3 separate regions of the Homo sapiens genome follow, and all the other regions are linked to region 3. Evidence: promoter capture Hi-C in human tissues and cell types (Jung and others, 2019). All regions are on one chromosome and are shown on one strand. Each heading gives the region's core, a stretch centred on a gene start or on the middle of the fragment in contact. The rest is flanking DNA. Distances are from core to core; before and after follow the strand shown.

The links. Contacts are between HindIII fragments. The study calls those that stand out against the background at their distance.
Region 1: a contact is called between a fragment that was not itself captured here and the fragment with the promoter of TBX15 in region 3, in 2 of the 25 tissues and cell types used here (psoas muscle and spleen).
Region 2: a contact is called between a fragment that was not itself captured here and the fragment with the promoter of TBX15 in region 3, in 1 of the 25 tissues and cell types used here (liver).

What each region holds. Positions count from the first base shown.
Region 1 is chr1:118,943,724-118,948,150 of GRCh38, reverse strand. All of the region lies in intron 1 of TBX15 (T-box transcription factor 15), which reads left to right. Among named protein-coding and RNA genes, the nearest start is that of TBX15, 42 kb to the left of the region's middle. The HindIII fragment of the contact is 3,904 bases long and covers 1-3,216 here.
Region 2 is chr1:118,928,550-118,933,290 of GRCh38, reverse strand. TBX15 (T-box transcription factor 15) reads left to right here. Exons shown (of 8, transcript NM_001330677.2): 2 at 1,459-1,672. Among named protein-coding and RNA genes, the nearest start is that of TBX15, 57 kb to the left of the region's middle. RefSeq lists a silencer at 4,031-4,325. The HindIII fragment of the contact is 5,420 bases long and covers 571-4,741 here.
Region 3 is chr1:118,984,636-118,989,592 of GRCh38, reverse strand. It overlaps TBX15 (T-box transcription factor 15), which reads left to right and starts at 1,250. Exons shown (of 8, transcript NM_001330677.2): 1 at 1,250-2,002. The coding sequence starts at 1,798. RefSeq lists enhancers at 1,317-1,849, 1,850-2,383, 3,703-4,380. The HindIII fragment of the contact is 7,773 bases long and covers 1-4,957 here.

The sequences.
Region 1 (4,427 bases), core at 15-2,514, 41 kb after region 3:
CATAATAGAGACCCTGACTGTACTGTGACTCTTCACTGAGTCACCACTGGGGAGATGGTCAGATGCTATGCTTCAGAAACCAAAAGAACAAATGGGGTCCATTGGTCAGCACACTTGGCTGCTAGTTCCCTACCACCACAAGATAACTCATGACCTTGCTCGCATTTTGCAGAATCACAGATCATGGAACAAGATGCTGGGTAGGTCATTTTGTCTAGATCTTTGTCTCATAGGAGCAAGCAGTTAACGTCTCCATTTTAAAAATGAGGCAATAGTTGCTCAGCAAGAGTAAATGAAGTACTGCTGCTGGGGGAGGCATGGACCAGTTTGAGGAGAGAACCCAGGCTCTCAGCAAGCAGGTCTTCTCACTTCACCACTTTGCTTCACCGAGTCTCAGTTTCCTCATCTCTAATGGGCACTGCAAGTATGGATTAAGCATGGTATTTAGAGCACATTGAGAAATCTCTGCAGGGTGAATGATTAAATGTAATGCTGATAAGTTACATTTTTATATGGCACTTTATAATTTACAAAGTGCTTTCCTCTGCATTGTTTTATTTTGCTGGTGCCTCATTGAGTTGCGTAAGCAGTAGGATTCCTTCTCCACTTCTCACAGATGTGTCAACTGAGGCACCACAGGGTTAAATGGCTCCTCAAGATCATATCTCTAGGTAGAGTCAGAATCAGGACTCACACTCTTGCTTTCTGATTCCAAACCAGGACTAACACTCCTACCTTCTGATTCTGAATCCAGAGTTCCTTTCACCATAAAATGACAAATAATGCAGTTGACTGTATTTATTATTCACTTTAATGACAGCAGAGTCTTCAGTGTCACAGTGTGGTAAAAATAGATGTTTAGCTGGGAGGACCAGGAGGTTCTTGGTAGCAGACAAACTGAGCTCACCAAAATGTTCTTCTCATGGGCAGGCTCCATTGCCATGGCCTTTAGGAAAGCCTTGGCAGGCCTACCTGGGGCAGCCTCACTTACTCACTGTGTCCAGCTTTCCCTGTGGAGCTGCCTCTCAACCCCAGTGCCAGATGCAGACATTGCCTTAGAGGACATGAGGTGGAGGGATTTCTTCTGAGATACAGGGACCACTGCCTAAGAGCACATCCCCAGTGAGGGGATTGGACTGCAAGTCCCGCAACAGCAGACTTGCTGTGCAGACTTTTGGCACACATAAGGAGAAAGAACCTGGTAAGCTTGGGGTTCCTGTGCCACTAATGTTTTCCTGGGAGATAGGGGAAAAGAGAACCAGAGTAAAAGCAGCAAGACCAAAGGAAAAGCCACGTTTTCATTCACTCAAAAATAATTTATAATTCATCTACTTTCCCCAAGTAAGTAGGTGAATATGGATTATAATTTATCCAACTTATATATATGTGTATGTGTGGTTAAAATAAAGATCAATGGAAAATAGGGAATCATACAGAGAAAGCAAGATGGTCTCAGGTGGCCATTTTAATACTCATTACTACATAGAGAAACACAATCCCTTCCTCTTCATAATAAAGATAAAATATATTTTTATTAAGATGCACCATTAGTAATCTGTGTCATATTCTTTTGAATCTTTTTCATTGTAAATATCTGGCTGAGGGAAAAAGCATTTTGTTACAGCAGAATAGAGCTTGGAAAGATGGATGTTTATTACACTTGAAGAAAACCTATCAAACCAGTGTAGTCCTTAAGGCCTTTTAAAGTCATAGATTCCTTTGAGAATCTCATAAATCCCATGCATCCTTGCCCCAGAAAAGCACACAAGCTTTTGCAAATTTAACTTATCATTTTAGGTGACTTGTAAACCTCCAAAGCTTGTCCATTGACTTTAGGTTAATAACCTCTTCATTTAAATAATTAGAAGTCAATATTTTATATAATAAATTTTTTCTTTATAAAAATATTCATCTCAAACTATGACTGTAGTTAAAATGTACAAGTATAGCAAGTGTCATATAAAATATTCTGATATCTATGAAATTTCCTAGCCTATAGCATTTGTATTTTAAACTTGTACTCATTGCACATTCACTTATAGTTTTACTGTAGTCTTATTTTTTTAAAGATGCTATATATTGTATACTTTATTGTAATTTGCATTTGATAATACTTGTGTAGTACTTGGTATAAAAAGGGAAATCTGCCTTCACTCATACATCAATGTTGATTATATGTAGAATATGTATATAAAGTAATACTTTAATATATACAACAGCTCATACACCATCAATAAGATCCCATCCTCCAGACTTGTAAATTCTTGGAAAAAATTACTTCCACATGTTCCTAAAAGTACTTAAGGATTTTTGACTGGTTGGTGGACCATTGACTCTGAATATCTGACCTGTCAAAATGCCATCTTTAAACTCCAGTGATGCATAGAGGCTTGGAATTAGCCAGGGTTGAATTTATTACAGAACAAAGAGAGGTGATGATTAACACACCCATCTGAACAGTAGGGGGGGAAAATAATCCTTGAATGGATTAGATGCCATGATCCTAAAACCACATTCTCTGAGTGTTGGGTTCTTGCCCAGGAATGGGAGAGGCCAAACGTTGATGCCTTTTAAATGACAGGGTGTCTCCATGGAGCTCTGGTTAGGGACAGTGGGGTAGAGAGTTTGGGGTCAATTGAGAAAAAGCCTTTCTTTCTCCTGTGACCTATCAGATTGAGGACCTAGACCTGCTCTGTGTGCAGTAACCCTCAAAACTTACAGCCCACCTGATTAGTGTTATACAATTATCAGTCTGCCTGTCTAGGTGGAGATTAATGTGAATATGTAAATAAATGGACTTAATTTTTAACCACTAATCAGAGTTAACTTACAATTTTGGGGGGACTGTAGTATGCTGCTTTAAAGACTGGAATAAATGCTGCCAAAAAGATGAAATGAATTCTTATACACTGTCCCACTTAGTTGTGAAATAGACAGGCTCTCTCAATTCACTGGCAATGTCTGGTAGGTTCTGAACACTCCCAGGCTATGTTTTCAGGGAAATTTATCTTTGTAAGAATAGTCCATGAACAGAGTACTAAACCCATTTTCTGATTGACTTTCCTATTCTCCTCTCTTTCCCCTGCTACGTATTGCAAGCTTTCTAAAAAGTATGGATTTTTAAACAGCATTGTGTAATAGCATTGATGGAGATTGACTCTGAGAAGAGGCCTCCAACAGAAGGACACCATCCTAAGAAGGAAACAGGTCATCAGAGGAAAGTCATTTTGACCCCCATTCCCTGGGAAGAGGAGTGCTCGAATCGCAAGCCCAGGTGCTCAGGAAATCTCCTGTCACTGTGAGATGTGCTGGAACATGGTGCCATGTCCAAGCTTCTAAATACAGTTCAGGCTGGGTCATCATGACAGATGCTGAACTGGCACCACTGTGGGAATTGAAGTGGGAACTCTGACAGTGCTTAAATGCCATGGCCCCTGGGCTCAAAGTCTTCCTAGGCAGGGACAGGGAGAGGCAGGGCAGAGTCTTGTGGGGAGGAGGGTAGGAGCAACTTTGGCAAGGAAATCCTGCTGTCTCGGCGACACTGCCACTCTTTCAGAAGGCAACAGACACTCAACAACACACCAGCTATTTTGGAAGCTGTCAGTTTCTGAATTGCTGACACACTTGAAGGACACTGTCTCTTCAAGGGTCATTCTGACCCTTCAAGGTAGGTAGGCCTGGGGAAAAATAGAGCCTTGTTGAAGCCAAGATGTTGACCATGGAATGAGTGGAATTAAGTGACATGGTGAGGATGACTCAAGGAGTCGGGAATGGAGTTAAGAATAACATGTTCACTTTGCGATTCCCAAATCAGCCTTCTACACAGAAGACAGTGTAAGGCAATTCCTTACCTCACCCCACCCTCCTTTTCTTGGCCATCATAAAAAATCCATCCTGGGGTTAGCATCCTTTGATGACTCATTCCCTTTTGGGAAGAGCTTTAGAGGAAAAAGAAAGACAGGAGAGACTTGGGAGGAAGACTTTTCCTGGAGGGTCTGGGAAGTTGGGATGTGAGGGTGGGATTCTAAGTTTTGCAAGCATCTTAATCTGGGTTTGTTGAGTTGTAAATATAAAAACACTCAATGATTTCACTCTCAATGATTGCCTTGTGCCCCAAAAGTGAACTTCTTTCTGCCATCAAAGCATTTGATTTTAGGGTTTCTGAAGGTGGTGTGGGATGGTGGATGAGGTGAAGTTTTGAAATGGGAGAGACTTGGGTGCATTTGTTCTCTCTAATATTTCTGGGTGGGTGGCACTGGGCATGTTCCCTTGTATAAGTCTCAAAATAGGGTTAAAATGCCTACCTTTCAGGCCTCCTGCTCGTGCTCCCTGGGAGCCTCACCTAGGTACTAGATTTTTTTCTGCCTCCTCAGTGTGTTTTCCTTATCCTGAGCCAGGTGAGTGTTTCTGACAAGGCTATCCATCTG
Region 2 (4,741 bases), core at 2,031-4,530, 58 kb after region 3:
GGAGAGAAATGACACTTTTTCCCCTGTGGGCACTTTATTCCCTGTGGCTTTGACACAGCTGTTAGATATTCTTGCCAGAGATGCTGCCTGGGGTTGCAAGAGAAAAAAGTCAGTGACAAAAGGAAAGAAAAGTAAAGGAACAATGGGGTGTATCTTTCACAGGTCTGCAAACCTGCTGCAGGTAAGTGAGGTTGGCAGCAACGTGATTGGGCATTCTGTCCCATTCTTTTCCATCTTACTAGTGTCAAGGATTGATGCTCAAGAAGCTCTGACCCTTGACACCATTGAAAAGTCACTCATCAGAGTACAACACTTGTTTCCAGCCTTTACTCATGAATATATTTAACTCCAAGGAAAGCAATCAGAATTCTAGATGTTAAGGGTGGGTTAGAGAAATGGATTCTTAGGCTTGACTTGCAGCATCATTTGACCTAAGAAAATTATACTAGATAATCTGAATTTGAAAAATGTTAGGACACACAATTCTTGGCATTAAGCTCCTAAAGGTAAATATTTAAAATTCCAGTAAATCTTCCCGGGTAAATCTGGCTCTAGCCTTCTCCATCAGTCAGCTTCCCCTGCCCCCCAGCCCCACTTGTCTTCATGAGTACAGAAGACACAGGAAAGGACCATCTGGACCAGCATGCCAACTTTTTATTTGGTTGCTCTCAATCCCACCTTCCTGTTTGGATCACCCCTCCCCTCTGCCCATACTTCAGAAACCAATCAAGGTGTCTCCTGAACTCATTTATTCCCTTTGTTTCAACTGCCTTTTTGGGTAACTTTTTCCATATGCTTACATCCTTGACTCACAACAGAGGTTTTTTTCCCATCCAAAATGGCCTGATTAGACTCTTAGGAAAAACCATTTACTCAAATATATGACAAAGTACTTCTAAAGATCCCAAGCAGCTTTTCATTACTTTTGATGGCCATGGCTTATGTAAGTAGAGGAAAAATTTCTGTGTTTAAAAATAACTGACAGGCAGTGATGCTGAGTGGTATGGAATTGAAGAACATAATGTTTGCACTGAATCTTTACTTGCACAAATGTAATAGTCTAATCTAGGTTTGGACCTGTAATTTATAATTATTTTAGTTTAATATGGCATTTATTTTGTTGCCCCAGTTTGGCCTCATTCTCTTCAACATGGTGACATTAGTACTATTTATATTGCCTGTTGTGGACCAATTTTCTTCAGCTGTTGCTAAAACTTACTAAAATGCCAGATGTCATGTTGGAAACACGAAACCTGAAAGAAGGTCATAAATCACAAAAACAAACCATAAAAAATAATAAAATACCCTGAGTGCTGTGCTCTGGAGCTTCCCAGCTTTAAGTCTCCTTTTGTTTACCCCTCTCCCCACTTCATTGCATTTCCCACCCCCATCTTTTAGGGCCATGGGTGAGGGGAGCTCAGCAGTTTCTCACCTAAGGCTTGATTGTTTATTTTGCAGATTCTGAGCAGAGCACTGGTTCAGATTCTGAGGTCCTCACTGAGCGGACTTCCTGCTCCTTCAGTACTCACACTGACCTGGCCTCTGGTGCTGCAGGCCCTGTGCCTGCTGCCATGTCTTCCATGGAGGAGATTCAGGTGGAGCTGCAATGTGCTGACCTCTGGAAGCGGTTCCATGATATTGGAACTGAAATGATCATCACCAAAGCAGGCAGGTAAGGACAAATTCCTTTGAGTGGCCAGATTCAAAGAATTTGCAGAAGTAGGAGCCATTACATTCTTCCATTCTTATTTATTTGTGATGGCATCAACAAAACCAAAGCAGCTTGCACTCACTTCTCTGCATTTGGACATCTTGGTAAAGTTGTTCTGTTGTGTTTGTTGTGATTGTATTATTTTCCTCCAAGGGCCAATCAAATGTAAGTCATGTAAATCACAAACATTTTCCACCTACAAATGTATTTCAGCTAATATTGGAAGTCCATGGGATCTTAACAGCCAAAATATATATTTCCAAAGCAAGTGTTTACTTCACCATTAAATACTTTCAAGAAGTTTGCTTCCCAAATAACAACTTGCATCTTCTAAAGTATTTAAAGCAACAATGCTTTTGTAGTAATTTTTAAAAAAGAATTGACTTGATGCATATTCTGAGCCTGTTGATGTCCATTGTGTTTTATCATTGACTTGAAATTATTACACAACTTTATTGGTGACCTATGGAATTTCTTGTAAAACTGTTTTTCTAGGATTACAAAATTTTAAAAACACAGCTTCTCTTGATATAGACACTTTTAGTTAAGCTACTCCTTTATTGGTATGTTTCAACTTTCCATAGTTAAGTATTTATTTTGTGCTGGACACTCAACATACATCTTTGAAACTTACAGGAACCCTATGAGGTTGGACATAATCATCCCATATATGGATTAGGATGCAGAGGATGAAAGACATTAATTAGCTTGGCTAAGGCACATGGGTACTAAGAGGCAGCTCCAGAATTCTGCATAAATCTGTGTGGCTCTAAAACAGTGGTCTCAACTCTGAACTGTGAAGAAATGGCTGTAGTTCTTGCCCCTTGGATTCAAAATGAAACGATTTAGATAAAATTAAATTTGGGCCGGGCACGGTGGCTCACGCCTGTGATCCCAGCATTTTGGGAGGCCAAGGTGGGTGGATCACCTAAGGTCAGGAGTTCGAGACAAGCCTGGCCAACATGGCAAAACCCTGTCTCTTTTAAAGTTACAAAAATTACCTGGATGTGGTGATGGGTGCCTGTAATCCCTGCCACTTGGGAGGCTGAGGCAGGAGAATCGCTTGAAGCTGGGAGGCGGAGGTTGCAGTGAGCCAAGATCGTGCCGTTGCACTCCACCCTGGGTGAGAGAGCAAGACTCTGTCTCAAAAATAAATAAATAAACAAACAAATAAATAAATAAATACATTTGGACTAAGCTTTTCAGCATATAGGAATAGTTCATTGAAATTAAGCAAAACAGTTATGCTACTTTTGTGTTTTCAAAGCCAGTGTACATAATCTCACATGTCATGGGGAACAAAAATCGCATCTTACTGATTGTGAGCTGTTTTCATGAACATAGCCATTTAAAGTAAAATAATATTTTGGTTGGGTCCAGTTTATCTACGTGTATATAAGGAAACCTCCCAAAACAATAAGATATGACAAAAACATGAAGTTAAAATAAATCTGAAATTTTGTTTATTTTCTTTCTTTTCTGGAGCTCTCTTCCTTCTCTCAGTAGTGAATAAAACCATTAAAGGCTTCCTAGGGGGAGAAGATGGGCTGGATAACTGTGTTCAATATCATCTCTTTTTCGTTGCTTGGGTCTCAGTGTACTTCTGTTCCACATTTTGTGGTGTAAAGGCTTGGAAGAAAACAAAGTAACTCAAGGAAATTTTTTTAAAGTTTTTGGTAGAAGAGTTGGTTTGGAGAGAGAAGAAATATTACATTTTTTTTTTGTCTATAAGATTTTCCGGTATTCTTTTTGGGTTTTTACTTTATTACTCTTGGGTCTCTGTATTCCAGTCATGTTTGTTCCTGATATCACTTCGTTATTCCCTGTGCTTTAGTGAATTGAGTTCATTTGAGCATCTCCTTGACAACCTTCTTGTGACTCATTTTGTAATTCTTCTGCAGTATTTTCATTTCCATATCCCTGATTTCACAAGTTCACCTTAATATCTGGATACTCTACACATTCCCCAAGACAGACACATAGTTTGTTCTTTAGTAATAATTGAAATCCTTTGTTTAAGTTTAGAAACTACATTAATTGGTTCTGTATTCAGTTGTCTCAACTGTTGTTACTACATCTAATTCTTCTCAGGTAATTCTGAAACAACTCTGAATCATACAAATAAGGCTTTCTCTTCTGTGAATTTTCTTCATTCCTTCTCATTCTCCTGGTTAATTTCTTGCTTCTCACTCATTTTTCTTGCTATGCAGTATTGTCAGTATTCTTTTCCATTTTAATTCCAATCTCCATCTTCTTAATTATGTTAGTTATATATGGCTTTCTCTCCTTTTTCTTACTTAGATGATCTTAGTCACCATCTACCTCCTTCCACACCCCAAACTGTGATCCTATTGATTCAGAGCTGCTGAAGTCTATAGAGCCCTCAGTCTTTGAGTGTACCAACCCAACCTGCATAATCAGCACCATGGACAGAGGTGCTTGCAAGGATTAATGGGTTTAGAAGACAAAAGAACTGGCCTAAATTTAGCCATAAAATTAAAACCAAACACATCTCTTTTTGTAAAACATGAAAGGTTAACTTTTCTTTAGACTGTTGTGACTTCACTTGATATTCTATGCTAAAATGTGACAAAAAGAAAAAAAAGGCTTGCGAAGTTTTTAAGAAGAGAATTCAAAGGTAGTCACAGAATTTTAAAGCAAGGGGGCACTGTAGAGATTATCTAGTCGATTTCCTTTGTTTTATAGGTGATGGGGTTAAATGATTTATCCAAAGTCACATAGTTCATTTATTTTAGAAGTCAGGTACTGGAAAGGGATGGGTAGCTTCTCCATTAAAGGTCATATAATGGTTCCAGACAGAACAGATATTGAATTAAAAACATCTAACACCTTTTTTTGTAAAGGTATGAATAAAAGAAATCTCTCTCTTTCGTGTAATACAGCCTCTCTAGGTGACTGGGGGAAACCATATTTTCTTATCTCAGGTAGTAAATGAGAGGACTTTTGCCCCATCTCTGGCAAGATGCCCTCCAAACATTTACATATACAGGGAAGCTATAAATCAGTGTT
Region 3 (4,957 bases), core at 1-2,500:
GGCCTCTCAGTCTGTCCCCCGCCCCCGGGACCCAGCTCTTTCCGGCTTCTTTGCAAAAGGATAGAACCGTCTCGACCAGGGCACTAGGACTGGAAGATCGGGCTGTGTCTAGGCCGCTGTCCGCGAAATCCGAGACGTTTTTTCAGCTTGGCTAGGACCGACTTCGCTGCCGGTTTGAGCTTTCTCTGCACTCGGGGGTCTCCTGCCGTCCTCGACCGGTGGCGTAACTTGGGAAGAGGTGTGGGAATTAAGAATGGCCAGGAGCGTTGGATTTTTTAATTCCTTAGAAATCCATGTTGAATGCAGTCCTTAGAGATCGCAAAAGGCAGGGGGCGGCCAGGGGGGAGATCAGCTGGCCGGGAAAGCCATGGTCTTGAGGTAACGGGATTTGCAGGGAATTTTGAAAAAGCTCCTTCTCTTCTGTTAAAGTTCCTAGCTGTTCTTGCCTGTCACCTCTCCATAGGTTCTCTGCAACAAGAGCCCGGAACAGGCGAAGCGCAGCCCAGCGTTCGGGCCGTAGGGAAAGAGAGTATTTGCGGCGTGAGGGGGCCCAGCTGGAATACGCCTGAGGAGCTCGCCCTAAACCCCGCGCTCCGCCGCCCGCCCCTTGCTCTCAAGGCGCCTGTGTCTCCTTCTCCACCAGGTAGAGCTGGAAGGAGGAAGCGGTCTTTGAATTTTCAGTTACAAGACCCTGGTTAGTAACAGGGCTTTCTGTTTGCTTGTTTGTTTGTTTCCTTTTGCCTTACCCAGATTTGCTTAGAAAACGTTCAGTAGGAACATTAAAACCTGTGTGGCGAAATCCAGGAGGAACCAGAATATTCTAAAGCACCTAGGGGCTGACGCGAAATTATCAGAATCGTTTTCTGGCATTTTGGACAGGTTAACATTTTGTCAGAGCCCCAAAATTCCAGATCTGCAACTAAAGTGACTCTGGACTTGCAGCGTCTATGAGACCAGCAGATCTGGAAGAAAAACGTATGGATTTGGGATTTGCAGGAGTTTGTAAAGGCGCAGATCAGACCTCAACTTTCAACTGTCCTACCTCCCTCTTGGAGTAACCCATGGGGAAACCGGGAAGCCAGGGGTTAAAGTCGGCCCAGGAGCATCCAGGGGACGACTGGCGCTGCGCTTTGGCCCGGGCCTCAGTCTCTCCCTTCCTCTCATTGGTTCGCGCTCTCGGAGTTTCTCTTGTTCCCTCCTCGCTATTGGTTGGGGGCTGGCTTTTTTCCCCCTCAGTCTTTTTCTTCCTCCCCCTCCCTCTCCCTCACCCCTCGGACAGGAGCGCACCGCCTGCCCCCTGTTCCTCGGGAAGGGAGGAATTTAGCGGAAAAAAAAGTTTCCCAGAAGTTTGGATCACAGGGAGGACGGGAAGGCAGAGAGGAAGAGAGAGAGAGGGGGAGGAGAGAAAAAGAGAGGGAGGGGAGAGAGAGAGAGAGAGAGAGAGGAGAGAGAATAATAATAATAACAAAAACAAGATGAAGTTCAGTGGACACAGTCTGTGAGCGCCTGCCCCGGTGGGTGGGAAGCAGGACTCGGGCGCTCATGCAGCGAGCGGGCGGCGCTCGGGGCGCTAGTTCCTAGCAGCTGGGCCAGCGTAGGGGCGCAGGTCGGATCCGGCAGAGGAGGGCGGAGGAGGACGCAGGGGGAGGGTGGAGAGACCCGCGAGCCGCAGTCTCAGCCTCGTCCGACGCGCCTCCGCCTCTCCCGGGCCGGGCCCGGTGGGCGCTCAGAGCTTGAGGGCGCCGGCTGCTCCCTCGGTAGCGGGGGCAAGCGGAGGCAGGGGTGTGGGCGGCTAAAATGAGTGAAAGGAGAAGATCTGCAGTCGCCCTGAGCTCGCGAGCACATGCCTTCTCCGTTGAAGCCTTGATCGGCTCAAATAAAAAACGGAAACTGCGAGACTGGGAGGAGAAGGGGCTGGACCTGTCTATGGAGGCGCTGAGCCCCGCGGGCCCACTCGGAGACACGGAGGACGCGGCGGCACACGGCCTGGAGCCTCACCCGGGTGAGTGCGTCGCAGCCGACCGCGGGAGGCGGGCGGAGAGGGGACGCCGAAGGGCCAGTCGCCGGTCGCGGGTGAGGAGCTAGGCCCTGCCATTGACGCCCTGCCTTGCCCCAACATAGGTTTCTGTTTCTTCGCGCAAATGCCCTGAGCCTCCCTAAATTCACCGGAACCAATTTTTGGGGCTGGACTGAGCCTTGCATTTTCGTCGCCAGCCTAAGCAAGGAGTCCTGTTTGTTTGCATTTCTTTTTCTTTTGGGTGGAGAGCGCAGCTTTCTGGGTGTCCGTGGATGAAGGGCTGCCGGTCCCTGGGATTGGGAGGGGCGCGGGCCGAAGGCAACGGCGGGAGCCGAGATCTAGGACTCGCTTCTGAGAACTCGGGAGGACTGGCGCGGCGTTCTCCAATCCAATACCTCAGTCTTCGGGGAATGACCAGTTGTCTCATTTAGCCTTCAACCTCGTCCTTGCCTTTCTCCCACCAACTTTTCGATGGTGGAACATAATTATATTTCTACTCCTTTGGCGTTTACGGAAACAAGAATGGATGTTAGACCCCTTACTCCTTGGGTCACTCTTCAGGGCCCACATCTCTGTGTATTTAGGGTGTGGGTACGATTGATTTGTGTCTCAGATCCTACAGTAACCCATGTATATTATGTGCACGGAACATGTAAAAAGCAGGGGGGATGTCATGTCTGTATTTTAACAGAACCCTAGGAGGGGAGAAGCCAACTTTAACGTTTTGTGTTAAGTGCCAAGATTTCAACTGTGCAAAAACAGCCCGGGGGAACAGCTGTTGTCGGAAGAATCTTGAGTGTGCGCGCGCGCACATACAACGCTCGCAACTTGGTTTAGCGGTTTCAGAAGCTTTCCAGCCCGGACTTCTAAAACCATGCTGGAAGGTGCTCCTGCTGAACAGCCAGAGCTGGGGAGTAGACCCCGCTTCACACGCTGACAAGCCCGGGGAGGGGGCAGCGGCCTGCACTGGGATAGAGACGGTCTGGGGCTCAGGAGCTTGGGGATCTCAGCCACAAAGCTGTCCAACTCAGAGGAGGGACAGCTGTCGCTTACATTTTCTCTTTAGGCAGTGACAGTTCAATTTCCATGCTCCCGAGGCTAATAATAATGCGATTAGCGGGTGACCTGCAGAGATAGAGTTTTATGAATTCTCCGTGTTTTTGTGGCCCGTTACGGTATTTGAGTTTAGTGCTGGGGAATTATTTTTATTAGTCGATGAAAAGAAAATTAAAAGGAGATTTATTTCGACCGTCCAAGCCTTTTCCTGTATTTGAATGCAAGTGCTTGTCCACGCGGACCCCTGCGTGGGCATTCCAGAAAGGCACCCAGGGCTACTGTGTGTTTCCCTTCGCTGGCCAGACCCTATTTCCTCAGCTCATTTATCTATTGTCAAAATCTCGCGTGGGCCTTCATACAGTTAGAAGTTCTTGCAGGGGTTATGACGCCTTAGAATTTGTAAGGTTCTTTTATTTTCCCCACGGCGGAAAAAACAGAAGTTGTTTAGCTGCGCGTGGCAGACGTCCTGTCCCGGGGAAGTTTTCTCTTGGGAGGCCCCAGATCGCACGGAGCCCGTCTAGGGCCTTATGTTCAAATGGGTAATACATGGGGTCATAATTAGAGATTCAGATCAGAGTTTGCTCTTTCTGCCGTTCTCCTTAGCCTGAGCTCCATTCAGGAGGCAGAAGAGAGAAAACTTAGGGAATGAGGCAAAAAGAAACCATTCCAGAGCGTGAACCTGGGGAGCTAAGCTCATGAATTCTATTTACTCGCTCCCGCGGGATGGGGGTGGGGTGGAAGATCTAACAGAACTAACTTTATGTAACAGAGTTCGGTTGGTCATTTCCCATTACGTTATCATTTTTTAAAAAAGAAAAAGATGGGTATTTGGATTAGAGAAAACGAAATATATTTGTGGGGCAAGTGTCTAGGAGGAAGAAGCTGAAAGCCCAGCACCCTCTGGCTTTCTGCGGAGCTGGGCTACAGGCCGGGCCTAGCCTTTTAGTGGGCCGGGGGAATCCTTAAGTTGGAGCCCCCGCAATGGCTAAGCCTTTCTTAACGATTTGCTGATAGGATGAGAAAAGATCTTTTAGTAAAAAGGGCGCCGTGGCGTGGAGACGCGGCGGTCCAGGGAGCAGAAGAGGTGGAGCTGTCGGCTCCAGACTCAGGCGGTAGCGAAAGGCGCGACCAGGGCTGGGGGTGTTTTTAGGCCTTTCTTTTTCTGTAATACAGCACCCTAACGAACACACACAGGGACACATTTAAAGATGTGTGTATGGAGGAGTAATGCAGGCGACCCTATTGTGCCCAGGGCAGCGTCTCTTCCCGGGTGAGCCTCATTGTTTTAACTCTTTTGTCCTTAGGGCCCAGAAGCCGCTGCGTGGTTCTCCCGCCCTAGGCCGATAACAAACCGGGAATAGGAAAAAAACAAAAAATTGTTTTGCGGGAAGAATGAAACACACACACACACACAAACACACACGCACACGTTCATGCCTAGAGTATTCTCACCATCTCTCATAGCACCGTTTTTTAGTCCGCTCTGCCGGAGCTTCAAAATTCCGCGATCTTTAGACAACTCTAGGGTCAGATTTTAATGTTTAACTTTCATTCAAAGACGAGGCCTTTTGCTTTTTCACAGCCCATTTTTCTTTCCGCGTCTGGACAGAGCTGGCTTTAGTTGGCGCCCGAGCACCCGCAGCTTGGGGCACCAACCTGCAGCAACGGGGGATCAGTCCGGCCTGCGCGTTGTAGGCACTCACTCCACAGAGGAAACTATGTATTTCGAAAGCGTTTCAAAAATTCCACCGAGCCTGGTGGCCCCGAAAAACCCCAAGGCCCGCCAGACTTTGGAGAAGGGTCTGTGAGGTACCCTCACTGTCATACCTACGCCGGCACTCTCAGTCTTTTGGAGAAGCTACTAGAGAAGTGCCTCAAGACCAG